Regions from separate parts of the Homo sapiens genome. Here all the other regions are linked to region 7. Evidence: promoter capture Hi-C in 16 types of primary human blood cells and fetal thymus (Javierre and others, 2016). All regions are on one chromosome and are shown on one strand. Each heading gives the region's core, a stretch centred on a gene start or on the middle of the fragment in contact. The rest is flanking DNA. Distances are from core to core; before and after follow the strand shown. Region 1 has its middle 22 kb from the start of BAIAP2L1. Region 2 overlaps ARPC1A (actin related protein 2/3 complex subunit 1A). Region 3 overlaps BAIAP2L1 (BAR/IMD domain containing adaptor protein 2 like 1). Region 4 overlaps BAIAP2L1 (BAR/IMD domain containing adaptor protein 2 like 1). Region 5 overlaps LOC105375421 (a long non-coding RNA gene). Region 6 holds the start of BAIAP2L1 (BAR/IMD domain containing adaptor protein 2 like 1). Region 7 holds the start of TMEM130 (transmembrane protein 130).

Evidence for each region. The method cuts DNA at HindIII sites, captures the fragments that hold promoters and counts their contacts. A CHiCAGO score of 5 or more calls a contact.
Region 1: a fragment that was not itself captured here is called in contact with the fragment with the promoter of TMEM130 in region 7 in 16 of 17 cell types (M1 macrophages, M2 macrophages, naive CD8 T cells and 13 more); the score reaches 16.1 in M1 macrophages.
Region 2: a contact is called between a fragment that was not itself captured here and the fragment with the promoter of TMEM130 in region 7, in 1 of 17 cell types (monocytes). The highest score is 5.7, in monocytes.
Region 3: a contact is called between a fragment that was not itself captured here and the fragment with the promoter of TMEM130 in region 7, in 1 of 17 cell types (endothelial precursors). The highest score is 7.3, in endothelial precursors.
Region 4: a contact is called between a fragment that was not itself captured here and the fragment with the promoter of TMEM130 in region 7, in 3 of 17 cell types (endothelial precursors, naive B cells and total B cells). The highest score is 7.6, in endothelial precursors.
Region 5: a contact is called between a fragment that was not itself captured here and the fragment with the promoter of TMEM130 in region 7, in 1 of 17 cell types (fetal thymus). The highest score is 6.0, in fetal thymus.
Region 6: a contact is called between a fragment that was not itself captured here and the fragment with the promoter of TMEM130 in region 7, in 1 of 17 cell types (naive CD4 T cells). The highest score is 5.4, in naive CD4 T cells.

The regions. Positions count from the first base shown.
Region 1 is chr7:98,420,518-98,424,807 of GRCh38, reverse strand. No RefSeq gene overlaps it. Among named protein-coding and RNA genes, the nearest start is that of BAIAP2L1, 22 kb to the right of the region's middle. The HindIII fragment of the contact is 9,559 bases long and covers 1-4,290 here.
Region 2 is chr7:99,343,586-99,347,853 of GRCh38, reverse strand. It overlaps ARPC1A (actin related protein 2/3 complex subunit 1A), which reads right to left. Exons shown (of 10, transcript NM_006409.4): 4 at 3,339-3,561. Among named protein-coding and RNA genes, the nearest start is that of ARPC1A, 20 kb to the right of the region's middle. The HindIII fragment of the contact is 1,192 bases long and covers 1,415-2,606 here.
Region 3 is chr7:98,382,200-98,386,426 of GRCh38, reverse strand. All of the region lies in intron 1 of BAIAP2L1 (BAR/IMD domain containing adaptor protein 2 like 1), which reads left to right. It also overlaps the pseudogene RPS3AP26. Among named protein-coding and RNA genes, the nearest start is that of BAIAP2L1, 17 kb to the left of the region's middle. The HindIII fragment of the contact is 4,374 bases long and covers 1-3,732 here.
Region 4 is chr7:98,362,257-98,366,264 of GRCh38, reverse strand. BAIAP2L1 (BAR/IMD domain containing adaptor protein 2 like 1) reads left to right here. Exons shown (of 14, transcript NM_018842.5): 2 at 3,833-3,908. Among named protein-coding and RNA genes, the nearest start is that of BAIAP2L1, 37 kb to the left of the region's middle. RefSeq lists an enhancer at 3,095-3,856. The HindIII fragment of the contact is 1,408 bases long and covers 1,168-2,575 here.
Region 5 is chr7:99,318,378-99,322,218 of GRCh38, reverse strand. LOC105375421 (a long non-coding RNA gene) reads left to right here. Exons shown (of 4, transcript XR_927798.3): 2 at 2,775-2,982. Among named protein-coding and RNA genes, the nearest start is that of ARPC1A, 5.6 kb to the left of the region's middle. The HindIII fragment of the contact is 1,785 bases long and covers 1,130-2,914 here.
Region 6 is chr7:98,399,792-98,403,664 of GRCh38, reverse strand. It overlaps BAIAP2L1 (BAR/IMD domain containing adaptor protein 2 like 1), which reads left to right and starts at 2,575. Exons shown (of 14, transcript NM_018842.5): 1 at 2,575-2,863. The coding sequence starts at 2,813. RefSeq lists a silencer at 2,242-2,901. The HindIII fragment of the contact is 976 bases long and covers 777-1,752 here.
Region 7 is chr7:98,868,376-98,872,127 of GRCh38, reverse strand. It overlaps TMEM130 (transmembrane protein 130), which reads left to right and starts at 2,114. Exons shown (of 8, transcript NM_152913.3): 1 at 2,114-2,351. The coding sequence starts at 2,267. RefSeq lists enhancers at 2,044-2,629, 2,630-3,216. The HindIII fragment of the contact is 4,583 bases long and covers 1-3,743 here.

The DNA.
Region 1 (4,290 bases), core at 280-2,779, 450 kb after region 7:
GGGTGACAGGGAGAGACCCTGCCTTGGAAATAAACAAATGAAATAAACAAAATAAAATATCCAGGATCTGTCCACCTGGACACTTGTCCCCACCTCTGCTGTCACTGCCCAGTGTGAGCCACAGATTGCTGTCTCCTGAAATATACAAGTGCCCCCCAACTTCCATCCTTCCATCCTGCCCCACCCCTGCATGCTGTCTATCTCTCCCCAGATGTCAGAGAGATCCTTTACAAACATAAATCATATGTCAGGCTAGGCGCAGTGGCTCACACCTGTAATCCCAGCACTTTGGGAGGCCGAGGCGGGTGCATCACCTGAGGTCGGGAGTTCAAGAGCAGCCTGACCAACACGGAGAAACCCCATCTCTACTAAAAATATAAAATTAGCCGGTCATGGTGGCGCATGCCTGTAATCCCAGCTACTTGGGAGGCTGAAGCAGGAGAATGGCTTGAACCCGGGAGGAGAAGGTTGCAGTGAGCCAAGATCATGCCATTGTACTCCAGCCTGGGCAAAAAAAGCGAAACTCTGTCTCAGGATGAATAAATAAATAAATCATATCATGTCATGTTTGGGTTCCAATCCCTACCATGGTTCCCAAGTTCACGCCGAAAACATGGTGACATCCTCCCGTGGCCATGAGGCTCCACATGACCTGGCCCCTCTTATTTCTCTGACCTCACTTCTCACCTGGTTCACCCACCACCCGCTTGATCTTCCTGGAATACATCAGACACACCTCCAACCTTTGGTGTATCCCTGGCTGCTCCCCTGCCTGGGACCCCCTTCACGCCAGGTACCTGCACAGCTTACTGCCTTCTTCCTTTTCAAATATTACTTTCTCAAAGAAGCCCACCTTGATCACATCTTCACCATTCCATCTTCCTTCCCCTCCACCCTTTCCGTCCCTTTTTTTTTTTTTTTTGAGACAGGGTCTTGCTCTGTTGCCCAGGCTGGAGTGCAGTGGCTCAAACACAGCTTACTGCAGCCTCAGCCTTCCTGGCTCAAGCCGTCCTCCTACCTCAGGCTCCTGAGTAGCTGGGACCACAGGTGCACACCACCATGCCCGGTTATTTTTGGGTTTTGTTAGAGATGGGGCCTTGCTATGTTGTCCAGGCTGGTCTTGAATTCCTGAGCTCAAGCAATCCTCCTGCCTCAGCCTCCCAAAGTGCTGGGATTACAGGCATGAGCCACCACACCTAGTCCCCAGCAATACCATTGATCCTGCTCAACATTTTCTTTTCTCCATTGCTCTAATCTCCTAGCAATCTATAAAATTCTATGATCTTCTTATTGTTGCATCAGTCAGAACAGGCCAGGTTATACTGCTGTAACATACACTGCAAACCCCAAAATCTCAGTGATGTAAAAAAATGTTTATTTCTCACTCATGCTTCATGACTCAGGGATCTATACTGATTAAACAGACTTCATTTTAAATATTTCCAGTTCTCATGCCTGGGGCAGAGGGAAAGCTCTAGGGGGCCTCTCACCAGCAATTAAACGCTCAGCCCTGAAGTATGGCATCACCACTCCTCACAATTCATTGGCCAGAACTGGTCACATGATTTCAGCCAACCATAAGAGAAGCAGGAAGTAAAATTGTACCATGACTGGGCTCCATGGCTCAAGCCTGTAATCCCAGAATTTTGGGAGGCCAAGGTAGGAGGATCGCTTGGGCTCAGGAATTCAAGACTAGCCTGAGCAACATAGCAAGGCCTCACCACTACTTAAAAAAAAAAAAAAAAAAAGAAAAGAAAATTTAAAAATTTGTGGGTTTTTTTGTTTGGTGTTTTTTTTTGTTGTTGTTTGCAGTTTTTTTGTTTGTTTGTTTGTTTTTTGTTTTTTTAGGTGGAGTCTCGCTGCAGTGCCCAGGCTGGAGTGCAATGGCACAATCTTGGCTCACTGCAACCTCCGCTTCCCAGGTTCAAGTGATCCTCCTGCCTAAGCCTCCCAAGTAGCTGGGACTAAAGGTCCATGCCCAGCTATTTTTTTGTGTGTTTTTAGTCTACCATATTGACCAGGCTAGTCTCGAACTCCTGACCTCAGGTGGCCCACCTGCCTTGGCCTCCCAAAGTGCTGGGATTACAGGCATGAGCTGAGCCACCATGCCCAGCCAAAAAAAATTTTCTACTAATTAAAGAAAAATTAAAAATCCTACCATGTACCAAGAAGGGGGAGTATTTGAAATATTTAGAGAACAGCACTAATGACTACTACAGTTTGTCCATTTTTATCACTTGTCTTCCCCCTTTAAAAGGTAAACTACACAAAAGCAAGTATCCCCAGCACCTAGAACAGTGCCTAGCACATAGGAGGTGCTCAGTAAATATTTTTTTTAGTAAGTGGATGGATTACATTATTATATTCACATCTGGAATTGAAAGTTAAGAGCTAATGTAAACTCCTTTTTTTTTTCTTTTTGAGACAAGGTCTCGCTCTGTCACCCAGGTTGGAGTGTAGTGGTGTGATCATGGCTCACTGCAACCTCAGCCTCTTGGGCTCAGTGGATCCTCCCACCTCAGCCTCCTGAGTAGCTGGGACTACAGGCACGCACCACCACACCTGGCTAATTTTGGGTGGGGGGCGGGGCGGGGGTTGTTAGAGACAGGGTCTTGCTATGTTGCCCAGGCTGATCTCAATCTGCTGGGTTCAAGCGATCCTCCTGCCTTAGCTTCCCAAAGTGCTGGGATTACAGGCGTGAGCCACTGCCTCTGGCCAAAGCCCAATTAAACATATACACTGCAAACATGAAGGACATGTTCTTAATCTATTCCTGTGGTGTTCTTGAAGCCCATGAAATTGATTTCAAAAAAATTTTTAAGAAGGGGTCTTGTAACGTTCACCAGGCTCTCAAAGATACCTCTAAAACAGATCAGAAACAAGTGATCCACTTTGGGAGGCCAAGATGAGTGGATCACTTGAGGCCAGAAGTTCAAGACCAGCCTGGCCAACGTGGTGAAACCTTGTCTCTACTAAAAATACAAAAATTAGCTGGGTGTGGTGGCTCATGCCTGCAGTCTCAGCACTTTGGGAGGCCATGGCGGGAGGCTCAGTTGAGGCCAGGAGCTCAAGACCATCCTGGCCAACATGGTGAAACCCCATCTCTATTAAAAATACAAAAATTCGCCGGGGTTGGTGGTGCACGCCTGTAATCCCAGTACTTGAGAGACTGAGGCACGAGAATCGTTTGAACCGGGAGGCGGAGGCTGCAGCGAGCCGAGATCGTGCCCCTGCACTCCAGCAACAGAGATCCTGTCTGGAAAAAAAAAAAAGTGTTTAATTAGTTGGGTATGATGATGCACACCTATGATCCCACCTACTCGAGAGGCCGAGGTGGGAGGATTGCTTGAGCCCAGGAGGATGAGGCCGTAGTGAGTTGTGATTGCGTTACAGTACCCTAGCCTCGGAAACAGGGTGAGACTCTGTCTCAGAAAAAAAAAAAAAAGATAACAGTTGAGTCATTTCACCTGTTCGTGCCTCAGTCTCCTCGTCTATGCAGCAGACCTGGGGCGGGGATCAGCTAACAGGTGCTGGCTATACCGGCAGGTGATTCCCGAAAGCTGGACCCACTCAGGGAAGGTGCGACGCGCTTACCTGTGCAGCCAGCGCGCCATCTAGTGGACGCAGTGGGCAGTCAGCGCAGCTCCCCACACACCTGCCCCTCCTGACTCCCAGGCTACCGCTAGGGCTCAGGAAGGTTTGACGGACTCCAGTTCTATGAAACCGTAGCGCAAGGCAGGCCCCTTAGCCTTCCCTGCAGGGGAGAGTGGAACTCCAGGGCTGCTGCCTGTCACGATCCTCTCCTTTCGTCCATCCACAACTCTGATATAGCACACTCAGGAAGAATAAGACTGGACAGGTGTGGAGAGGGAGAAATTGACTTAGCACACTATTTATTTATTTATTTTGAGACAGTGTTCGAGATCAGCCTGGGCAATATGATGAAACCCTGTTTCTACTAAAAATACAAAGATTAGCCGGGCGTGGTGGTGCACACCTGTAATCCCAGCTACTCAGGAGACTGAGGCAGGAGAATCGCTTTAACCTGGGAGGCAGAGGTGGCAGTGAGCCGAGATCACACCATTGCATTCCAGCCTGGGTTACAGAGTGAGACTCCATCTCAATAAATAAATAAATAAATAAAATTATATATATACACATATACACATATATACATATATACATATATATACATATATATATACACATATATACATATATACATATATATATACACATATATATAGAAAGAGAGAGAGAGAGAGAATAAAATGTACAATTCAGCCAGGT
Region 2 (4,268 bases), core at 761-3,260, 480 kb before region 7:
TTTCTTTCTTTTTTTTTTTTTTTTGAGATGGAGTTTCGCTCTTGTTGTCCAGGCTGGAGTGCAATGGCGTGATCTCAGCTCACCGCAACCTCCACCTCCCGGGGTCAAGCAAGAATCACTTTCTTTTATTTATTTATTTTTTATTTTTTTGAGACAGAGTCTTACTCTGTCATCCAGGCTGGAGTGCAGTGGCGCAATGTCAGCTCACTGCAACCTCTGCCTCCTGTGTTCAAGCAATTCTTGTGCCTCAGCCTCCCGATAGCTGGGATTATAGGCTCACGCCACCACGCCCGGCTAATTTTTGTAATTTTAGAGGAGATTAGCTTTCACCATGTTGGCCAGGCTGGTCTCAAACTCCTGGTCTCAGGTGATCTGCCTGCCTTAGCCTCCCAAAGTGCTAGGATTACAGGCATGAGCCACCACGCCTGGCTACAGAATCACTTTCTTAGTATCCTGTCTGAAGAAGTTCATTCTGAAAAAGACAGCCAGGTGCAGAGGCTTGCAACTATACTCCCAGCACTTTGGAAGACCAAAGCAGAAGGATTGCTTGAGTACAGGAATTTGAGATCAGCCTGGGCAAGAAAAGTGAGAACCTGTCTCCACAAGTAATCAAAAAATTAGCCAGGTGTGGTGGTGCAAACCTGTAGTCCCAACTACTTGGGAGGCTGAAGTGGCAAGACTGCTGGATCCCAGGAGTTGGAGACTGCAGTGAGCCGTGTTTGTACCACTGTACTCCAGACTGGGTGACAGAGAGAAACCCTGTCTCAAAAAATAAATAAATAAATAAAATAAAAAACCAAAATCCCCCACAAAGTCTCTAAAAAAGGAGAAAAAGACAGTATTTCGAATTGTTTCATAATGTATACATATTTTTTGAGACAGAGTCTTGCTCTGTTGCCCAGGCTGGAGTGCAGTGGCATGGTCTCGGCTCATTGCAACCTCTACCTCCCTGGTTCAAGCGATTCTCCTGCCTCAGACTCCCAAGTAGCTGGGATTATAGGCATGCACCACCACACCTGGCTAATATTTTGTATTTTTAGTAGAGATGGGGTTTCTCCATGTTGGCCAGGATGGTTTCGAACTCTTGACTTCGTGATCCGCCTGCCTTGGCCTCGCAAAGTGCTGGGATTGCAGGCGTGAGCTACCGTGCCTGGCCTTTATAATGTAATTTTTTTAATTAAGGAAAAGATGGCAAGCAAAATAATTAGTTCATATGGCTGAATTATAAACTTCTGAGAAGTTGTTTTAAAGTACTCCTATGAAATATGAAATAATTGTTCTACAGCTGAGAAACTGCCCTAAACATACAGCTTGTTCAAAGACAATACCTTGTACCATAATAAAGTCCAATTTACCTATACTTGACACTAATTCTCAACGAATAAAAATGTAAACAATTACTGAGGTTGAAGCTTAACTTGGAAGAAAAGTTTCCTGTAGAAATTTGTAAGATTGCAAGGAGTACCAGCTGACATAAAGTTTAGCCTTGAGAGAATATTAATGAAGTTAGTTTCCTATCTCATTACAATGAAACTTCCAAATAGTTTCTAGCAGGTAACATTTTGTTAGCCTTGATTTCACATTTGAAAGAAAAATGTATGTTTCAAATTCGTAACTCAATTTTTTTTTTTTTTTTTGAGACGGAGTTTCACTCTTGATGCCCAGGCTGGAGTGCAATGGCGTGATCTCGGCTCACCGCAACCTCTGCCTACTGGGTTCAAGAGATTCTCCTGCCTCAGCCTCCCAGGTAGCTGGGATTACAGGCATGCACCACCACACCCCGTTAATTTTTTTGTATTTTTAGTAGAGACAGGGTTTATCCGTGTTGGTCAGGCTGGTCTCGAACTCCTGACCTCAGGTGATCCACCTGCCTCGGCCTCCCAAAGTGCTGGGGTTACAGGCATGAGCCACTGTACCTGGCCCATAACTCAATTTTACCGCAAATTCCCAATCTCTTTTTGAAGAATAAAATTTCTGAAGTTTTACTAAATTACAAAGGTAACATGATAATCCCCTTCTTTCAATTTCAGCAGAATACAAATAACAAAACAGCTACAAAGAGTCATGTATACTCTGCTATTTTTAGTAGAAACACAAACACTGCCAGTTTAGTAGTAAATGACAACTTTACGTTGAAGGATATTTACCAGTCATGCTGAACACATGCCACACAGAAAAATAATTTTTTTTTTTTTTGAGATAGAATCTCACTTTGCCGCCCAGGCTGGAGTGCAGTGGCACGATCTTGGCTCACTGCAACCTCTGCCCTCCGAGTTCAAGTAATTCTCCTGCTTCCTCCCAAGTAGGTGGGATTACAGGTACCTGCCACTGTGCCTGGCTAATTTTTGTATTTTTAGTAGAGATGGGGTTTCACCATCTTGGCCAGGCTGGAGAATAATTGTTTCCTTATCAAAACAAACAGGAAGGAGTAGTTAAAATAAGTTTTGGCCATAAAATAAACCTGTGTTTTGACTGGGTCAGCAAGAAGTAATTTAAAAAATGTGCAATAGCTGATTAGACTTCTAAGATTCTGGTGAGTTTTGACTTCAACAGTTTAAACAAGTAAAATATTACACCAAGACACAGATTTGGTTGGCAAATAAGCTTTAAAGAAGGAACATTGACCAGGCGTGGTGGCTCACGCCTGTAATCCCAGCACTTTGGGAGGCCGAGGCGGTGGATCATGAGGTCAGGAGTTCATGACCAGCCTGGCCAAGATGGTGAAACCTTGTCTCTACTAAAACTACAAAAATTAGCCGGGCACGATGGCAGGTGACTGTAATCCCAGCTACTCAGGAGGCTGAGGCAGGAGAATTGCTTGAACCAGGGGGCGGACGTTGCAGTGAGCCATGATCGTGTCACTGCGCTCCATCCAGCCTGGGCAACAGAGTAAGACTCTGTCTCAAAAAAAAAAAAAAAAAAAAAAAAAAAAAGAACATTGTTATCTGTAGGAATCCTACATAGATATCCTGTGAAAAAAAAAAAAAAAGAAAAAATATTCCTCAGGGAACGGAGACTCTTTCAATGTTATTATTTGTAAATGAGAGTAAGAAAACAGCAATTTGCGCAGTATAGAGTGAGAACAGTAATAGCATCTTGCAGAAGAAACAAGTTAGGCGATCAGAACATGGACACAATAGCTCTATGTTAATATAAAAAACGTGCGATTTAACTTAACATGCACATGAGAAGGGAAAATGCTCAGACAGAATCGAGAATTTCAGAGAAAAAACCACACAACTCCGGATGAGAAAAACTGGAGTTATGGTGAGCCCTCACACAGCAGTGCAAATGTAAATTCTATAGAGAGGGATAGAAAAAATTCAGATGTCACTCACCAGTCATTTTCAGACTCAAAGTAACAAACAGAAATGAGTCGTGCTCCACTTCCCACAGCAAATTTGTTCTCTAGGGGGGACCACTTCACAAAAGTAGCTGCGCGATTAATTCTCAGGATCACCAGGGTTGGCTTCCAAACACCATCTTTCTGACTCCAGACATAGGCATTGCGGTCTGCCCCACAAGTGACAATGCGGTCGCTCTTGGGAGCCCAGTCAATACCTGCAAGTGAGACATGGGTCATCTGCTTTGCCCAGTCAATGACAAACAACTGCGGCACAGGCAGGTGGGTGGCACTGGCATGCCAGGATGAGACGTGGTCTTGGGACCTTCCTCCCAGGCACATCCTTCCCACTATCTATGTCCTGATCACCGCCTCAAGGAAAGGCAAGGATGCTTCTCTGCAAAGCGTCTGGGACTCGGGATTGTCTATGAGGTCATGTAGAAGAGCTGTTTTATAATTACAGACTTTACAAAACTAAACGGGGCCATTCTTTCCACCCATTCACACATTTCTAAGACTTCTAAAGATCTGAAGATTCATTACTTCTTTCTTTCCTCTTTATTAGATTTTTGTGTGTGTGAAAATAACTGTATTCATTAACACACCTCATTCTATGATATTAACCAACAGTCTGCTACATGGCATTCAACTAAAACAGCATACAGGGTAAATAAAAATAATCTTTAGTGTAAAGAGGGGGAACTATATATTGTGATTCATCATATATTCTTCTGAAAGTCACTGCCAGTTGAACCATACTGAAAACCTTTTCTACATGATGCAGGTCCTGTGAAAGAATCCTTGTTTCTTTGCATCTAAACCAGGAAGATACCTAAATATGTATCTGAATGTAAGGTTTATTTTTCTTATTTGATGAGACTTTACTTATCTGGTACCTCTGTGAAGAATCCCAAAGTCAAGGTCA
Region 3 (4,227 bases), core at 296-2,795, 490 kb after region 7:
AGGAACCAAAATTGCATCTGATGGTCTCAAGGGTCGTGTGTTTGAAGTGAGTCTTGCTGATTTGCAGAATGATGAAGTTGCATTTAGAAAATTCAGGCTGATTACTGAAGATGTTCAGGGTAAAAACTGCCTAACTTCCATGGCATGGATCTTACCCGTGACAAAATGTGTTCCATGGTCAAAAAATGGCAGACAATGATTGAAGCTCACGTTGATGTCAAGACTACCGATGGTTACTTGCTTCGTCTGTTCTGTGTTGGTTTTACTAAAAAACGCAACAATCAGATACGGAAGACCTCTTATGCTCAGCACCAACAGGTCCGCCAAATCCGGAAGAAGATGATCGAAATCATGACCCGAGAGGTGCAGACAAATGACTTGAAAGAAGTGGTCAATAAATTGATTCCAGACAGCATTGGAAAAGACATAGAAAAGGCTTGCCAGTCTATTTATCCTCTCCATGATGTCTTCGTTAGAAAAGTAAAAATGCTGAAGAAGCCCAAGTTTGAATTGGGAAAGCTCATGGAGCTTCATGGTGAAGGCAGTAGTTCTGGAAAAGCCACTGGGGACGAGACAGGTGCTAAAGTTGAACGAGCTGATGGATATGAACCACCAGTCCAAGAATCTGTTTAAAGTTCAGACTTCAAATAGTGGCAAATAAAGAGTGCTATTTGTGAAAAAAAAAACAACAAAAAAAAGAAATGTTGATTCCTGGCTGGGTGTGGGGGCTCCTGCCTATAATCCCAGCACTTTGGGAGGCTGAAGCAGGCAGCTTGCTTGAGGTCAGGAGTTCGAGACCAGCCTGGACAACATAGTGAAACCCCATGTCTACGAAAAAAACAAAAAAATTAACTGGGCATGGGGGCGTGTGGCTGTAATCCCAGCTACTCTGGAGGCTGAATCGCTTGAGTCCGGGAGGTCGAGGCTGCAGTGAGCAGAGATTGCGCCACTGCACTCCAGCCTGGGCAACACAGCAAGAACCTGTCTCAAAAGAAAAAGAAATGATTTCCCCTTACTGGTATCTGAGAAATAAAAGTAAAGAATTTAAACTGTTTTTAAATCATTTGGAGTTTTTGAACAATTCCTCAGATCGCAAAGGCCGCAATTTTATTTTATTTGAGACAGAATCTCGCTCTGTCACCCAGGCTGGAGTGCAGTTGGCACAGTCTTGGCTCACTGCAGCCTCCGCCTCCTGGGTTCAAATAATCCTCCCACCTCTGCCTCCTGAGTAGCTGGGATTACAGGTCCCTGCCACCATGCCTGGCTAATTTTTGTATTTTTAGTAGAGATGGGGTTTCACCATGTTGGCCAGGCTGGTCTTGAATTCCTGGCCTCAAGTGATCTGCCCACTTCAGCCTCCCAGAGTGCTGGAATTATAGGCATGAACCACTGCACCCACCCAGCTGCGATTTTAAGACAATAGAATGAGGTTGATTGCCGTGGCTCATGCCTGTAATCCCAGCACTTTGGGTGGCCAAGGTGGTTGGATCACCTGAGTTCGGGAGTTCAGCACCAGCCTGGCCAACATGGCAAAATCCCATCTTTACTAAAAATACAAACATTACCCAGGCGTGGTGGCGGGCACCTGTAAACCCAGCTACTTGGGAGGCTGAGGCAGGAGAATCGCTTGAACCTGGGAGGCCGAGGTTGCAGTGAGCCGAGATCGTGCCACCTACGCTCCAGCCTGGGCAACAGAGCGAGACTCCATCTCACAAAAAAAAAAAAAAAAAAAAGGTAGAATGATCTGTCTCACAGAGTCTGGTTGAAGGAAGTTAGCTAGAATGATTCCAGATACTACTATAAAAGTAGCATTTGGAAAGAACTAGTGCAGTAAGTCAGTGTACTTTGATCCGATAAAGTTCCTGTTACCTGTTCAGTGCTCTGGGGCTTTCTAAACAACGTAACCCAGTGCATAAGATGTCCTTTCCTGTAAATTTATTGATTGCTTTTTTATTCCAGGACACACCTTTTAAAAACAGTAACTAGGCAGGCAAGAGCACTTAGTCAAACAGCCTAGTATACTCTGTGGTCTTCAAAGTATGTATCTTTTAACAGCTATTTCAGAATCAGTAACTAATCAGTTACTGGTCCTTAATACATGCCATTTATCTGTAGTTTTATATTTCTAAATGATAACGTAATATTTCAGGTGTTTGCATTTCTTATTTTCACCACGTCTCTGTGAATTGCCTTGGTATTTCTTTGTACCTGTTTCCGTGTAAGACGGTACATTTCCAAGGACTGGAGCTCTTTCTTTTTTTTTTTTTTTTCTGAGACGGAGTTTCACTCTTGTTGCCCAGGCTGGATTGCAATGGTGCGATCTCGGCTCACTGCAATCTCCGCCTCCCAGGTTCACGTGATTCTCCTGCCTCAGCCTCCTGAGTAGCTGGGATTACAGGCACGTGCCACCACGCCCAGCTAATTTTTGTATTTTTAGTAGAGACAGGGTTTCACCTTGTTGGCCAGGCTGGTCTCAAACTCCTGACCTCAGGTGATCTGCCCGCCTCAGCCTCCCAAAATGCTGGGATTACAGGCGTGAGCCACCACACCCGGCCTGGAGCTCTTTCTTCATTCATCTTTGTGTTTCCTGGGTCCAGGATGGGGTGGGCTCAACGTAGGCATAATAATAAATGTTGCAGAAATGTGTAGATTTTTATGTGTTTGAAAGCCTGAAATGTGAGACTTTACAGAGTTGGTGGAATGAAACGTAAGTACACACATTCACATGTTACTTCTCTGTCTCTCCCACACATGCACAAACTTACACAAAGAGGAGATCCCAGAAAAGAGGCACATTTTCAGATTCTGGTTGAAATGTTACTTTTAAGACTGAAAGTTATGGCCGGGCGCAGTGGCTCACGCCTGTAATCCCAGCACTTTGGGAGGCCGAGGTGGGTGGATCACCTGAGGTCTGGAGTTCGAGACCAGCCTGACCAACATGGAGAAACCCCGTCTCTACTAAAAATACAAAAATAATTAGCCAAGCGTGGTGGCGCATGCCTGGAATCCCAGCTGCTCGGGAGGCTGAGGCAGGAGAATCGCTTGAACCAGGGAAGCAGAGGTTGTGGTGAGCCAAGATCGCACCATTGCACTCCAGCCTGGTCAACAAGAAGGAAATTCTGTCTGAAAAAAAAAAAAAAAAAGATTGAAAGTTATATTACATGGTAGTCATCTTGGTATAGCAGCTTAGAATAGGAAGGATTGTGTTTCCATTCTTTCTTTTCTTTTCTTTTTTTTGTTTGTTTGTTTCTTTTTTGATACTTTGAGACAGAGTCTTGGTCTCTTGCCCAGGCTGGAGTGTGGTGGCGCCATCTCAGCTCATTGCAGCCTCCGCCTCCTGGGTTCAAGTGATTCTCCTGCCTCACCCTCCCAAGTAGCTGGGATTACAGGCACGTGCTACCATGCTTGGCTAATTTTTTGTATTTTTAGTAGAGACAGGGTTTCGCCATGTTGGTCAGGCTGGTCTCGAACTCCTGACCTCAGGTTTCATTCTTTCAAATAAGAACATGTACCTCTAAGAACAAAGCAAACGTGGATACTGGTATTATCCTAGTAGGAATTTGAAGAAATGATTTTTACTTCAGTCTTATAGGCATTACTTATTCCCTATGAAGTTCAGAATTTAAAACCTGCTTGAATTCTGGGGCAGGGTTCCACAATCCCTCATCTGATGGAGGCCGGTGTGGACGAGACATTGTTCCAAAGTTTGATAGCTTGCTAATTGCCAAAGCTTCAACCTGAACGCTTTCCTGGCATTGCCAAGAAATAAACATAACTATATAGAGTTATGGTATCTGTGGACCTTAAACCCAGTATAATCATCCACACTTAAACTACAAAGGAAAGTGATTTTGAACCATTCCATTCATAGGCAAATGTAAAACCTTTGTCTAGTAATTAAAATAGAATGAAATTTTCTAGTCTTTTTTTAAATTTTATTTTTTGTAGAGACACAGTCTCCCTGTGTTGCTTAGGCTGGTTTCAAACTCCTGGCCTCAAGCAATCCTCCTGCCTTGGCTTCCCAAAGTGCTGGGATTACAGGCGTGAGCCACTGTACCTGGCTGAAATTTTCTAATCTTGAACTAGGTTAAAGACCATTATTTTTTCCTTCAAGTTACCTTCTCAGATGGGCTGAGCTCAGTTTTCCTGTACATTGTTCTCCCTCCCCACTCTTTTTTCAAATTAACAATTGAAAACCTAGATTTTGGCTGGGCACGGTTGCTCACG
Region 4 (4,008 bases), core at 622-3,121, 510 kb after region 7:
AAACAGCAGCCAAGGGTGGAGGAGGCAGAACTCTGAGCTGAAAACAGAGGAGTTCCTGAAAATCAGCTCCAAACTGTCCAGTCCCGGCCCCCTTCCTGACTGCGAAAGCTGACCATCCGATGATTGTCCCCCACCCAATGACAGGAAATTAGAAACTTCTCAGCAGAAGCCCAGTGGCCCCTGATGACTGTAGAGTGGCCATTGGCTTGGAATGAAGCCAGCAAGTCAGCCACTACCCTGTGCACACACCCACAGCTTCCAGCCGGCAGTGACGGGCTGCACGCCTCAATACAAACTGGCCATCAGGGATCACCACACGTTTGAGGAGAGTCTCTAACATGAAAGACAGGGATATCAAACAGTGAAAGGTAATCAGGAGATGATACGGGAACTAGAATAAAACACACCAAAAAATTCAGACAGGAGAAGATACTGCATCTATAAAACAAGAACAGGAGAGTACTTTTAAAAAGAAGCAATCAAAAGGCTGGGCGTGGTGGCTCACACCTGTAATCCCAGCACTTTGGGAGGCCAGGGCGGGCAGATTGCTTGAGCTCAGGAGTTTTAGACCAGTCTGGGCAACATGGCAAAACCCTGTCTCTACCAAAAATACAAAAAATTAGCCAGGCGTGGTGGCGCATGCCTGTGATCCACCCCCCGCAGCTACTTGGGAGGTTGGGGCACGAGGATCACTTGAGCCTGGGAGGCCGAGGTTGTAGTGAGCCAGGATCACACCACTGCACTCCATCCTGGGCAACGGAGTGAAACTCCATCTCAAAAACCAAACCAAAACAAAAAGAGCAATCAAGAAACATGAACATGCTCTTAGAAATTAAGATATATCAAATTCAAAAAATAGAATTGGAACATAAAGTTGAGGATATCTGTTAGCGTTATAGAACAAAACTACTGAAAGTGGAAAATCAAAAAAGATTAGAGAATAAATCCAGGATATATAAAATCTTCATCAGAGTTCCAGAAAGAATGAAGAGACAAGAAATAAAACAGGAATGATATTTGTACCTGAAGGACATAATTTTCCACATGGCTAGGGGTCCCACTGAGTGTCCGGTAAAATAAATGAAAAACAAACAAAAAAAATGCTGGGACAGACCATGGTGCAATTTCAGAACACAGGAATAAAGAGAAGGCTTCCAGAAATAAGCTTTAAAAAAAAGTCACATAGGAAGAAATGGCAGCTGACTTCAGCAGACCCAGATGCTAAAGACAGTGGAGTAATAGCTCTTTTTTTTTTTTTTTTTTTTTTTTTTTTTTTTTGAGACATATCCTCACTCTGTCACCCAAATTGGAGTGAAGTGGTGCAGTCACAACTAACTGCAGCCTCAAACTCCTGGGCTCAAGTGATCCTCTCACCTCAGCCTCCCAAGTAGCTGGGACCACAGCCACAAGCCACCACCCTTGGCTAATTGTTTTTATTTTTTGTAGCGATGGGAGTCTCGATATGTTGTCCAGGTTGGTCGCAAACTCCTGGGCTCAAGTGGTGATCCTCCCACTTCAGCCTCCCAAAGTTCTGGGATTACAAGCATGAGCCATCACGCCTGACCAAGTGATGTCTTAAAAATTCTAAGGAAAATAGTTTCAATCTACTCTGCTCTACTCAGCAAAATAGCAAACGTCAAGGTAAAGATAATTTCAGACACACGGGGACTCAGATTTACCTCTCACGCATTAGTTCTTAGATCATTTTTGGAATGTGATCTCCATTTTGGAGAAATAGGAAGACGTGGACCTACCTGGCTGACAAGAGCGCTGCCACAGGCCACCAGGAGGGCCATGCTAGGGCAATCGTGACAGTCAAGCCACACTGAGCAAGATGGTGGAGAGTCCTTAGAGGAAGTCAAGGGAAAAACGGAACAGGAGATTAGCTGAGAGTTTTGTACATTTGAAAAATAACACTGATAGGCCTCAGCCAAGTCTAATACAGCATGGGGACAAGTTTAAGGTAGATAAACAGAAAACTAAGCAAAGGTGGCGGGGCGGAAAGAAACAATTGTCCATCCCAGGAAAAACAGCCAGGCTTTACTGAGAAAGGGAACCATCAGCCTTAGTGCAAAGTCATAATGAACACTGACTATAGTTTCATCAGCAAATTGCCATCTAATTGCATAGAAAGTCCATTGGAAAGGAAGAGTGAGAGGTATAGAGACCTGAGGCCTCATCTGCTGTCGTAGGAAGCTGCAGTTACTCCCCAAAATCAAGAAATCAAGAATATTTAAAAAAAAAAAGAATATTCAAAACTGCAGCAATAAATACAAAAATAGGAGCATAGTTGAAAGTGCTCTCGGGCATAAGACCAGGGCTATGGAAAGGTCGAGGCATGGGTTGTTTTTCATTGTTATCACAGTTTGATTAAAAACAAGAGTCGTCCTATTCTCTCTCTCCTCCTGATTCATTTATTCTGAAGGGTATGTGTGTAAAGCACCTGCCTCTTTGAATGTTGGGTAGTTGTTCATTCTTTTTTGCATCTGGTCGTCTATATAAATGGAGCATGCATTTGGGGAAGGGGTCGGTGAGACTTGAATGGTCTCTTTGGGGTGATTAATATCATGAAGCTTATTGTTCCTAGATGGAACAAACACATAACAATCGCCACGTGTTGTGAGTCGTGAAGTCTGAGTACCGTAGGAATGACTTATTGTCTGTACTTCAAAGTTAGGGTATTTTAAAATTTAGACCCACGTCCTAAATAGTTATTTGTCTTATACTTGTCCTAGCATTTGTCTTTATGACTTTCTGCTGATACAGGAATAACACGTGTTGAAATGAAACCTGGACACTGGCTGCACCATGAAATCCATGAGAGGGAAACTGTGCCTTCTAATCCTTAGCTGTGTGCACAGGGTCTGGCCCATGGTAGTTACTCCACACAACTTTGGTGAATAAACCAATCAGTGGGAAAATGCCAGGGAGGCAGGGCGCAGTGGCTCGTGCCTGTAATCCCAGCATTTTGGGAGGCCAAGGTACGCGGATAACCTGAGGTCAGGAGTTCGAGACCAGCCTGGCCAACATGGTGAAACCCCGCCTCTACTAAAAATATAAAAATTAGCTGGGTGTGGTGGTGGGCTCCTGTAATCCCAGCTACTCGGGAGGCAGGGGCAGGAGAATTGCTTGAACCTAGTAGGCGGAGGTTGCAGTGAGCTGAGATCGTGCCACTGTACTCCAGCCTGGATGACAGAGTGAGACTCCGTCTCAAAAAAAAAAAAAAAAAAAAAAAAAGAAAAAATGCCAGGGACATCCAGAAGTTTCCAGGCAGGCCTGTGTCCTGGGGCCATCAGCAACATGCTACCAATGCCCCCTTTCACGTCCCTCCCCGCCCACACCCCTATAATTAGGCAGAGTAAAAACAAAATCTCCTGGAAATTTCTATTCAGTGGATAGAAATTCATCGAAATCTATTTGAAACATTGCCTTTGTAAGTAAGTACAGGTAGCTGATCCTCCACAGGCGTTCCTTAACACTAGAATGAGAACCATTAGCAATCCACTCAAACCCAAGAGGATGCCAGGCCTACAGTCCCTGCAGGGTATGGTAGAGACATGAATGACTGCTGCCTGCTCCGCTTATAGCAGATTCCAGGCAGCCTCTTGGGCAACTGAGAACTGCCAGGGTTACGGGCACCTTGCCACCTGTGAGCCCTGTTCCATCAGGTAAGGGAATAGGTGTGCTTCATTATTTTTACATCAGCATTCATTACTTTGTAGACTGTGCTGTTAGGCATCCATAGCTATCCTGGGCCACACAGTGACAAAATCTGAAGATGACTTGGTTTATTTTTTATTTTATTAATTTGTGTGTTTTGTTTGTTTGGCAGAATGTTATGGAACAGTTCAATCCTGGGCTGCGAAATTTAATAAACCTGGGGAAAAATTATGAGAAAGCTGTAAACGGTAAGTCTGTTTTTCTGAATTGATTATATATAAAGCCACTCAGTAAATATGTAATTATTTTTAAATGCTTAGTATTGAATTTTTAAATACCTTTAAGTGG
Region 5 (3,841 bases), core at 773-3,272, 450 kb before region 7:
GTACTTAGAAGTGGGCAATGGAAGAGAGGGAGGGGTTGGACACTACCGTGGGCTGATTTTGTTTGCTTTGCTGATTGGATTGGAATTGGAATTGAGTTGAATTAGAATTTGGTCAAGATTCAAGGCATCAAATATTTAATAAATACTCACCAAGTGCCAACTATTGTGTTAATAAGAGTAGAGTAAGATCCTTCTGTTCTCAAGTAACTTAGAGATTAGGATATGACCAGTCCACAAAATATTTTATCTTATTTTTAGACCAGGGATGCTGCTAAAATAATTTTAAATAAAAGGAAATGCACAATACCTTGAATCTGGAAGGTCCTGGTTAACATTCGTTGAATGAAAGTGCAAATGAATGAAAGAAAACAATTTGGATGTCAAAGGACACAGAGGTTACTGCTAGTTGAGAATGGAAGGTGGGGCTTATATAGACACATCAGGAACATAATCCATCATAGTTTAGGAAGGTTACATGTTTGTAAAGGCGTAAGGATTTCCTTCTCAGGAGAGCTTGATTTAATAACTGGAATGTGGAGTTGGAGAGTAAGAAGATTGTTTCTTGCTTGTTGTGCCAACAGCTGAAATGGTGAACAATTACTGCAGATCTTCCAATAATGCCTGCCATCTAGTCACCAAAAAAACTGTTGGAAATACTGAATCAATGCCAATAAAAGCTATAAACAAACAAAAGGACAAAACTATTAATGCATATTGTGTGTTATTAGTTAACAATAATCCTTATGCTTTAGATATTGTCCTAATTGCTGGGTATGTTCCCAGTGAGGAAAACTTCCTATGGAAAGGATTTTGTAGAGTTCAATACAGGTGAACTGAAAAGTGCATGTGGATTTTTCCACTGCTCACTCAGTTCATTTCCATAGGACAGAGATGGGACCAGTCACGGGATGTCTAGGGGCACAGGGTAGTCTCAGGTGGTGTGTATAAATAGCATATTATCGCAAATACCATACTTGTAAGACAATCATACAAGCAGACTTGGGAATTCCCTGTGTTACTTACCTAATTTAATAAGTGAAATCTGTAACCCATGAACCTGTAAATCTCCTCAAGGCCAGAGCCACTTAGACATTTTGTTACCGACACATTTTTCCATGTTATGCAAGCTTAGATTATTTTAATAAAATCATTCTGGAGCCATCTAGCACCCTCATCCACCAGTCATTTCATTAGCATAGAGAGACACACTTATCACTCCAGAGATTGCAAAGGTCTTAAAAGCTCCTGTGTGAGGAACTGGGAGCTAAGACCAAATATTATAACAAAAGATGTTTCAGTTACTGATGGACAAGTACAAGGTGTGTGGGAAGGGACACAGAGCTTCCATATCCTCTGGGCACACCACCCTCCCAGCACCACCACGTGTTCTCTAACCCAGATGCTCTCCAAACCTCATCATTTAAGGTTTTTATGGATGTTCTATAATGTAGGCATGATTGATTAAATCACTGGCCATTGGTAATTGAAATAAATCTCCAGCTCCTCTCATCCCTGGAGGTGGAGGGGTGGGACTGAAAATTCCTACCCTCTAATCACAGAGTTGGTTCCTCTGGCAATTAGTTTCTTTCTGGAACCATCTAGCACCCTCATCCACCAGACATCTCATTAGCATACAAAAAGACACTTACCACTCCAGAGATTCCAAGGGGCTTAAAAGCTCCTACGTGAGGAACTGGGAGCTAAGACCAAATATTATAACAAAAGAGGTTAGGCTGGGCACGGTGGTTCACAGCCTGTAATCCAGGCACTTTGGGAGGCTGAGGTGGGTGGATCACCTGAGGTCAGGCATTCGAGACTAGCCTGGCTCACCCGGCAAAACCCTGTCTCTGCTAAAAATACAAAGATTAGCCTGGCGTGGTGGCAGGCACCTGTAATCCCAGCTACTCGGGAAGCTGAGGCAGGAGAATCGCTTGAACTGGAGATGCAGAGGTTGCAGTGAGCCGAGATCACCCCACTGCACTCCAGCCTGGGGGATACAATGAGACTGTCTCAAAAAAAAAAAAAAGATGTTCCTCTCACCCCTGTTATACAGGGTAGTATAACAATTTTAAAAGCTCTGTGTCAGAAACAAAATAGATATTTCTTTTTTTGTTTTTTGAGATGGAGTCTCGCTCTGTCGCCCAGGCTGGAGTGCAGTGGCGTGATCTCGGCTCATTGCAACGTCCGCCTCCCAGGTTCAAGCGATTCTCTTGCCTTAGCCTCCCGAGTAGGTGGGACTATAGGCATGTGTCATCATGCCCAGCTAATTTTTTGTATTTTTAGTAGAGATGGGATTTCTCCATGTCGGCCAGGATGGTCTCGAACGCCTGACCTCAAGTGATCCACCTTGGCCTCCCAAAGTGCTGGGATTACAGGTGTGAGCCACTGTGCCCGGCCTATATTTCTTATTATGTCACACTTGGATCATTTTATGTGTCAACTTGACTAGGCCACAGGGTGCCCAGATATTTGGTCAAACAGGATTCTGGGTGTTTCTGTGAGGATACTTTTGGGTGAGGTTGACTTTTAGATCAGTAGATTGAATAAAGCAGATTGGCCTCCCTAATGTGGGTGGGCCTCATCCAATCAGTTGAAGACTTGAATAGAACAAAAGGCTGACCCTCTCCTGAGTAAGAGAATATTCTCCTTCCTGATGGCTTTTTTTTTTCTCAATCCTGGAGCCAATCCAAGATCAATTGTTGCACTTAATTTTTGTTTCTTTAGTCTGATCTGGAACAGATCTTCACCTCAGTGTTTCTTTTTTTTTTTTTTAGAGATGGGGTCTTGCTGTGTTGCCCAGGGTGGAGTGCAGTGGCTATTCACAGGTGTGATCATAGCTACTATAGCCTCAAACCCTGGGTTCAAGTGAGTCCTTTGAACTAGAACATTGGCCTTTTCTGGTTCTGCAGAAGCTTCCAGCCTTCAGATTTGAACTGGGACACTGGCTCTGCAGATTTTGGACTTGCCAGCCTTCATAATTGTGTGAGTCAATTTTCCATCTCTTTATATCTCTATCTAATATCTCCTATTTGTTCTGTTTCTCTGAAGAATCCTGACTAGTATAACAGGTATTTCCTAAGACTCCCCAACCTTGGAGGGCCCCAGACTCCTGAAAGGCTGTCAAAAGTACTGCTTAGGGCTGGATGTGGTGGCTCACACCTGTCATCCCAGCACTTTGGGAGGTCGAGGTGGGCGGATCACCTGAGATCAGGAGTTCAAGACCAGCCTGGCCAACATGGTGAAACCCTGTATCTACTGAAAATACAAAAATTAGCTGGGCGTGGTGGCGCACACCTGTAATTCCAGCTACTCCAGAGGCTGAGGCAGGAGAATCTCTTGAACCTGGGAAGTGGAGGTTGCAGTGAGCTGAGATGGCACCATTGCACTCCAGCCTGGGCGACAGAGTGAGACTCCTTCTCAAAAAAAAACAAAAAAAAACAAAACAAGTACTGCTTAGGCTCTCAGCCACCTGTTCTGGAATCACCAAGTAGCCCTTGGGGTAAAACAGTCCTGCTGATGGGCTCACTCTCTTACATACTCTGTTCTCTTGGACATTGACCTGGTAGGTATTTACTACCTCATTAGTGCTCTCTTATCTTTGAGTAGATATTTTGTATATTTTGCCCACTTTTCTAATTATCACTAATGGGAGGGTTGTCTGTTGCCCCAGTGCTCCATTATCAGAATCATTCGGCAAGTAGCCATTAAAAAAAAAATCCCATTTGTCCATTTCAGTTTGCTAAATCTTGTTGCATTTAATTATCTATCTTTAACTCACTATTATGTTGTTGTTTGCTTTACTGTACATGTTAGTTGCAGGTTGGGGAGGATATCTAATTCT
Region 6 (3,873 bases), core at 15-2,514, 470 kb after region 7:
TGGGCCACACAGTGCCTTCATTGTGTATATTTCCTAGTGAACTTTATCACAAGATTAGTTTAGAAGTCTCACATCTTTCTTTTTTCTTTTCTTTTCTTTTTCTTTTTTTTTTTTTTTTGAGACAAATTTTCGCTCTTGTTGCCCAGGCTGGAGTGCAATGGCGTGATCTCACTCACCACAACCTCAGCCTCCCAGGTTCAAGTGATTCTCCTGCCTCAGCCTGCTGAGTAGCTGGGATTTAGGCATGCACCATCAAACCTGGTCAATGTTGTATTTTTAGTATAGACGGGGTTTCTCCATGTTGGTCAGGCTGGTCTCAAACTCCTGACCTCAGGTGATCTGCCTGCCTCAGTCTCCTAAAGTGCTGGCATTACAGGCGTGAGCCACTGCGCCTGGCCAGAAGTCTCACATCTTAACAGCCCATAAAAGATGCAATTGCACTCACATAGACGTTTTGGCATTTTTGTTTGTTTTTTGAAACAGAGTCTCACTCTGTGGCCCAAGCTGGAATGCAGTGGCACCATCACAGCTCACTGCAACCTCTTGGGCTCAAGCCATCCTCCTACCTCAGCCTCCGGAATAGCTGGGACTACAGATGCACACTATCACACTTGGCTAATGTTTTTAATTATATTTTTTGCAGAGATGGGGGTGGGCTCCCTATATTGCCTAGGCTGGCCTCGAACTCCTAGACTCAACCAGTCCTCCTGCCTTGGTCTCCCGAAGTGCTCGGATTACAGGCATGAGCCATCCTGCCTGGCCCCCAGATAGAAGCTTTTTGTTTGTTTGTTTTTGAGACAGAGTTTCGCTCTTGTCCCTCAGGCTGGAGTGCAGTGGTGCTATCTCAGCTCACTGCAATCTCTGCCTCCCAGGTTTAAGCAATTCTCCTGCCTCAGCCTCCCGAGTAGCTGAGATTACAGGTGCACGTGCTACCATGCCTGGCTAATTTTTGTATTTTTAGTAGAGACGGGGGCAGGGCGGTTTCACCATGTTGGCTAGGCTGGTCTCGAACTCCTGACCTCAAGTGATCCGCCTGCCTTGGCCTCCCAAAGTGCTAGGATTACAGGCATGAGCCACCAAGCCCAGAGGTTTTAAAAAATCAGAATAAGACCTCTGCCCTTGTTGGGTGCGGGTCTCAGGTAGCTAAATGGTGGTTCTTACTGGGGAGAAGGCTGTCACCCAGCCCAAGGTACATAATCCTGGAAGAGAGGCCCAAAGAAGGCAGCTGCCTCACCCTTGGGCAGGGCTGAGGCCGGGATGGAGACAAAATAGGGAGCCCAGGAGCCACACACCTCCACAGAGTTTGAGTGATGACAAGAAGAGAGGCTTCCCTAACACTTCAGCTCAGGTGGTTTTCTAAACCCTACAACAATCTCGTGAGTAGCATGGTTACACTGCATTGAGTTAAAGGTCGTTGTTAATGTAAAGTTTAAAAATGTACTACTGGGCCGGGCGCGGTGGTTCAAGCCTGTAATCCCAGCACTTTGGGAGGCTGAGCAGGGCGGATCACCTGAGGTTAGGAGCTCGGGACCAACCTGGCCAACATGGTGAAACCCCGTCTCTACTAAAAATACAAAAAAATTAGCCTGGCTTGGTGGCACGTGCACCTGTAATCTCAGCTACTCGAGAGGCTGAGGCAGGAGAATTGCTTAAACCTGGGGGGCAGAGATTGCAGCAAGCTGAGAGAGCACCACTGCACTCCAGCCTGAGGGGACAAGAGTGAAACTCTGTCTCAAAAACAAACAAAAAGCTTCTATCTGGGGGCCAGGCAGGATGGCTCATGCCAGGCAGGAGAATCGCTTGAACCTGGGAAGCGGAGGTTGCAGCAAGCTGAGATCGCACCACTGCACTCCAGCCTAGGCGACAGAGTGAGACTCCATCTCAAAAAAAAAAAAGTACTAACATTTCGGTAACTAGACCCTGGCATTTATTAATTTTTTGATATATCAGGAGCTTTCAAAACTGCAAGTGGCAGCCCGTTTTCTCCACCTAGGAGGGCCGATGCCCCCACGGGTCCCTCTAACTTTTGGGGTCAGTGAGCGGCGGGGCAAGAAGAGATCAATCAGGGAAATCAATACAACTGGGGAATGTGGCCCCTTCCCTTGGTCCCCAAAACGCAGGGCTTGAAGGAAGCCCTCATGGAGGAAGTGGGCCTCGGGGTCCCCGGGGCCAGCACCACGCGAGGCAAACAAGGGCTCCAGGACCACAGTCTAAACACCCCCAGGCTGCCCTTGCCCTAGCAAAACAGCAAAGCGAGCAGCCCACTCCACACCGGTCCCCACTCCAGGGTCTCGGGCCCTACGTCGCCGGAGCTCTGGGAGAGCCGCGAGGGGGCGCACCGTGGCCTCGCTGCCCTGTCCGCCACAGGTGGGGTGACCCCGCCCACTCGGGGGGCCCGCTTCCCTCTGGCCACGCCCATTCCAGCTGCCTGGCCCCGCCTCCTCCCCGCCCACCCCGGCCGGGCCCCGCTCACCAGGCCGCCTCAGGTGGGTACGCCACGCCCCTCCGGCCCTGCGGCCCCGCCCCCGTCTGCCCCGCCCGCCTCAGGTGGGGCCGCCCGGCCCGCCCAGCTTCCTCTGGCGGCGTCCGGCCGCTTCTCCTCTGCTCCTCGAAGAAGGCCAGGGCGGCGCTGCCGCAAGTTTTGACATTTTCGCAGCGGAGACGCGCGCGGGCACTCTCGGGCCGACGGCTGCGGCGGCGGCCGACCCTCCAGAGCCCCTTAGTCGCGCCCCGGCCCTCCCGCTGCCCGGAGTCCGGCGGCCACGAGGCCCAGCCGCGTCCTCCCGCGCTTGCTCGCCCGGCGGCCGCAGCCATGTCCCGGGGGCCCGAGGAGGTGAACCGGCTCACGGAGAGCACCTACCGGGTAAGCCCAGGGCCCGGGGCTCAGGGAGGTCAGGGCTTTCCACCTCGGGGTTCAGAAGGGGACTTTACGCGGGAAGGTACTTTCCCTCCCTCCAGCTCCCCTCCCCCGCGTCCTTCCACCTCTCCCGGTCTCTCCCACTCCTCCCCTGGCCCTCCACAGCCCCTCTTCTTCCTCCCCTGGCCCTCTCCTTCCTCCCAGTCCCTCCCCATCCCCTCCCCCCTACTTTTCCTCCTCCTTCCCTCCCCTCCTCCCTGTGCTTCTTCCCTGTCTCTCTTTCCCGCCCCGCTGTACCTCTCCCTCTGCCCCTCCGCTCCCCGTTCACTCTCCCTCCTCCCCTGCCCCTCGACACTGTCCCTCCCCTCCTCCTGGTTCTTCCTTCTCCCCCGTGTGTCTCCCCCTCCTCCCCTGTCCCTTCTTCTCCCCAGTCTATCCCCCTCCCTCCCCCTCCCCCTCCCCCTCCTCTTGGTTCTTCCTCCTTCCCCGTGTGTCTCCCCCTCCTCTCCTGGCCCTTCTCCGCCTCCCCTGTCCCTTCTCCTCCCCGTCCCTTCTCCTCTTCCCTGACCCTCAGAGCTCTGGAGACCACCCCCCATCCCCTGACCAGCTACACATTTTACAACTAGTGCACTTAAGTTGGGGAGGGGTCTGTTGTGCGTCGGTGGGGCCCACGTCCTCCTCCCAACTTCTTGGAATCAGTGACCCGTGCTGTCCTGGCTGCCGGGCTTAAGCCCTCCGGGACCAAAGACACAAGCTCGAGTTTCCTCTAAGAAAAGAAAGCGCCCAAGAATGTGGGGGTGAAACTCCCCTGTAATTAGGATCGCCAGGTGAGCCGAGCTCTGGGCGTTCTCCCGGGAAACGCCCTCCTCCTTAGACCCTTCCTCTCCCACCTTTCAGTTGAACTTGGCTTTTATATATGGGTTATTTGGTGAGGTTCTTGAAGTCAAAGAACAACCGAGGTTTTAATGAAATTGACCTAACCTTAAGGAATGCGTTGATAGCCGGTCTCTTAACTT
Region 7 (3,752 bases), core at 865-3,364:
TCACTGCAAACTCCGCCTCCAGGTTCAAGCAATTCTCCTTCCTCAGGCTCCCAAGTAGCTGGGATTACAGGCGCCTGCCACCGAGTCTGGCTAATTTGTGTATTTTTAGTAGAGACGGGGTTTCACCATCTTGGTTAGGCTGGTCTCGAACTCCTGACCTCGTGATCCACCCGCCTCGGCCTCCCAAAGCGCTGGGATTACAGGTGTGAGTCACCATGCCCTGCCCTGTCTAGCCCTTTTAACTTTTCATAGGGGCTCACTCAAATCTATTCTCCCTCCATTCCCTGAACATAGCAGTGGGGCCAGTGGGGCCCATTCTTAGGGAAGCTCACAGCTGTCCCAGAGCCAGGGGCCCTTTAGACCAGTAGTCCCCAACCTTTTTGGCACCAAAGACAATGTTTCCACGAATGAGGGGTTGGAGGGATGGTTTCGGGATGATTCAAGCGCATTACTTTTATTGTATACTTTATTTCTATTATGATTACATACTCACCATCATGTAGAATCAGTGGGAGCCCTGAGCTTGCTTTCTTGCAACTAGATGGTCCCATCTGGGGATGATGGGAAACAGTGACAGAACATCAGGCATTAGATTCTCATAAGGAGCACGCAACCTTGATCCCTCACGTGAGCAGTTCACAGTAGGGTTTGCGCTCCTATGAGAATCTAATGCCCTGCTGATCTGCCAGGAGGTGGAGCTCAGCGTGGCTCACAGGCCCTGCTCACCTCCTGCTGTGCAGCCAGTTCCTAACAGGCTATGGACTGGTACTGGCGGCCAGGGGCTTGGAGACCCCTGCTTTAGACGCCTTGATGTCAATGCACTGGGTGGTGCAGTGATGGTCCATCCGTGCTCCACGGGCCAGAGAGGAGGTCAAAGGCCCTCACTGTGTGGGAGGATCCCTCGCCCAGGTAGCCGTAGCAAAGCGGAAGCATAGCTGGGACCAGAACCCACCGGGCTTCCAGCGTTTAAGGCCAGCCAGGCCCCTCCAGCTTCTAGGAGAGCCCAGCCCTGCTCCTCTAAGGCAAATGGCAGTAACTGTGTAGGCTGGTCACCCCTCACCGCAGTAGCCTGACTCCCACAAGGCCCTCAGTGACAAAGAAGTTGCCCTGGGCCCAGATACGAGCAGGAGCCCCATCTTAACAGCAGCTGTGAGAGGGTAAACCGGGGGATGACATCAAGCCCACGGCAGGGGCCGGGTGCTCAGGCCCCTCTATCAAGAAGGGGCAAGAGGCTGGGCACAGTGGCTTACACCTGTAATCCCAACATTTTGGGAGGCTGAGGCGAGAGGATCACTTGAGGCCAGGAGTTTGAGACCAACCTGGCCAACATGGTGAAACCCCGTCTCTACTAAAAATACAAAAATTAGCCAGGCCTGGTGGCGGGCACCTGTAATCCCATCTTACTAGGGAGGCTGAGGCAGGAGAATCGCTTGAACCCGGGAGGCGGAGGTTGCAGTGAGCCGAGATCGCGCCATTCTGGGACAGAGCGAGACTCTGTCTCAAGATTAAAAAAAAAAAAAAAAGAAAAGAGGAAGCAGCAGCAGCAGCAGCAGCAAGAGGAATTTCGAGGCCTTTCGCCCAACGCCTGGCGCACCTTAAGCTCTCAACAGTTCTTGAATGAGGAGTAGCATCTCGGAGCCACGAGCGTGCAGAGAGAAGGCACCTGGAGGAGAGCCCCAAGGGACCTGCAGGCGGCTTGCAGCGCAGCGCACGCCCCTGGGGACGCTGAGTCAGAGCCGGCGGCATCGGATCCAGGGCGGGGAGGGGCTCGGGGGAAGGGAAAAATGCGGGTGCGGGGGGCGTGGTTTCGGGTAGTGGAGGGGAAGGATGCGGCCGGGGGTGGATTTGGGGTGGGGAGGGATGCGGGGAGGAGCCAGGGCGCAGGAAGGGAGCTCTGGAACCCCTAGAGGGGAAGCAAGCTGGGAGGGGCGATCGTGGACTCCAGGAGGGCAGGGGGCGCGGCCGTGGGAAGAGACCCGGAGAGGGAGGACGCGGCCGTGGAGAGGGACGCGGGAGCAAGGGGCGGCGGGAGGAGGAGGAGGGCGCGCGGCGCGGCTGACGTGGGCCGGGGTCGCGCAGCGGGCTGTGGGCGGCGGCGGCGGCGCGCAGCGACAGAGCGTCCCCCGGCGAGGACGAGCGAGCACGGCGCCCGCACCTCCCCGCACCGCCCGCGCTGCGCGCCCGGAGGAGCGACCGCCGCAGTTCTCGAGCTCCAGCTGCATTCCCTCCGCGTCCGCCCCACGCTTCTCCCGCTCCGGGCCCCGCAATGGCCCAGGCAGTGTGGTCGCGCCTCGGCCGCATCCTCTGGCTTGCCTGCCTCCTGCCCTGGGCCCCGGCAGGGGTGGCCGCAGGTAAGGCGCTGGGCAATCCGGCCTCCCTGCAGCCGCAGCCCGCCCGGGGCCTGGAACCGTCTCAGCGGGCGAGTGGGCCCGGGAGCAGGGATTGCGGAGGTGGCACCGTGCGCCCTGCGCGCATCTCCCTCCTCGGCTGAGGCCACTGCAGCGCCCTTTCCCCTCTCCTTTCATCCTTGTTCCCCAAAGTCGCCTGGGCACTGGAGGGGGCTCCCCGCACCCCCTGGATTCCTGCTTCCACCCCCCCAGGCTGGCCCTGCCCTGGAAACCGCGCGGGGGTGGCCGGCGCATCCGTCGATGCCTGGGGACCATGCACCCGCTAAGGGAGGGGAGGACGAGGCAGGGAGGCGGGGATGCGCCAGGGTCCGTCATCGCGCCACAATTCCCCAGTCCCCCAGGGAGCACGGGATGGGCAACGTTTTTGCCTTAAAATGTCGCCTCATCTAGAGGGGTTTCCCACCGTGTTGGTGCTGGCTTTGGGGAGATGCGAATTTAGAGCCCAGGAGGCCAGGCTGCCATTTCCTCTCTGGTGGTGATTTCCAAAATGGACCCGGAGCTGACAGGTTCCTGGGGTGTGTGTGTGGGTGGGGGAGTGGGGGAAGCAGGGTTGTGTGTCTACTGCCCCCACTTCCCCACCGCCAGAAAGCCAGCACCCACCTCTCTGCCACATTTTGGGAACCATAAAAGGACCCAGATTTAAGACTATTCGAGGGACAGATGGGACGTGGGCAGCTAAGAAGGTTGAATACTATCCACCACTTTTCACCCCCTCCCCCCTCATAAAAGAGCGGTGGAGAGAGAGAGCAAGGGATCTAATGAAAATTTGTGAAAGAAAAACCATGAGGTCAAAGAAAACCTGCAACTCAGGGATGAATTAGACGAATTTTATGGGAATTGCACTTGGACAAGATTACCTATTTCCTCCTGGAAATACAGGAAAGGGGTCTCTTGTCCATCAGGTTGATTTGTGTCAGAGATTTTCAATGTGTCCTAAATTGCAAAAGAAAAAGAAAATAATAACAAAAGTGAATTAATTATTTGGAAATCATGTGTGGTTCCCATTCTAGCCAATTGCACCCTTGATGTGGTCAAAATCACAGTGGCTAAGAGTGGAGTTGGGAAACATCTTCTCCCTCACCCGTCGGGGAGACTTTTCTACCCTTCCCCTTTCTGGAGTCCATGAATCAGGGATTTGTAAGTCAGAAGTCCATGTACTGGACTATTAATTAATTCTGGGTTGTGTTATCCAGACTTTAGAGGTACTCTTTGGAAGTGTTTTGGGTAGTCTGCATATTCTGTGTGAAAGGACTGGTGTAGCCATTTTCTAGAATGTTCAGGGCTGCACATGCTGTGTTGCTGGAAAAGGTAGGTGTTTCTTCCATGGGCCAAGCTTTGGGGTGA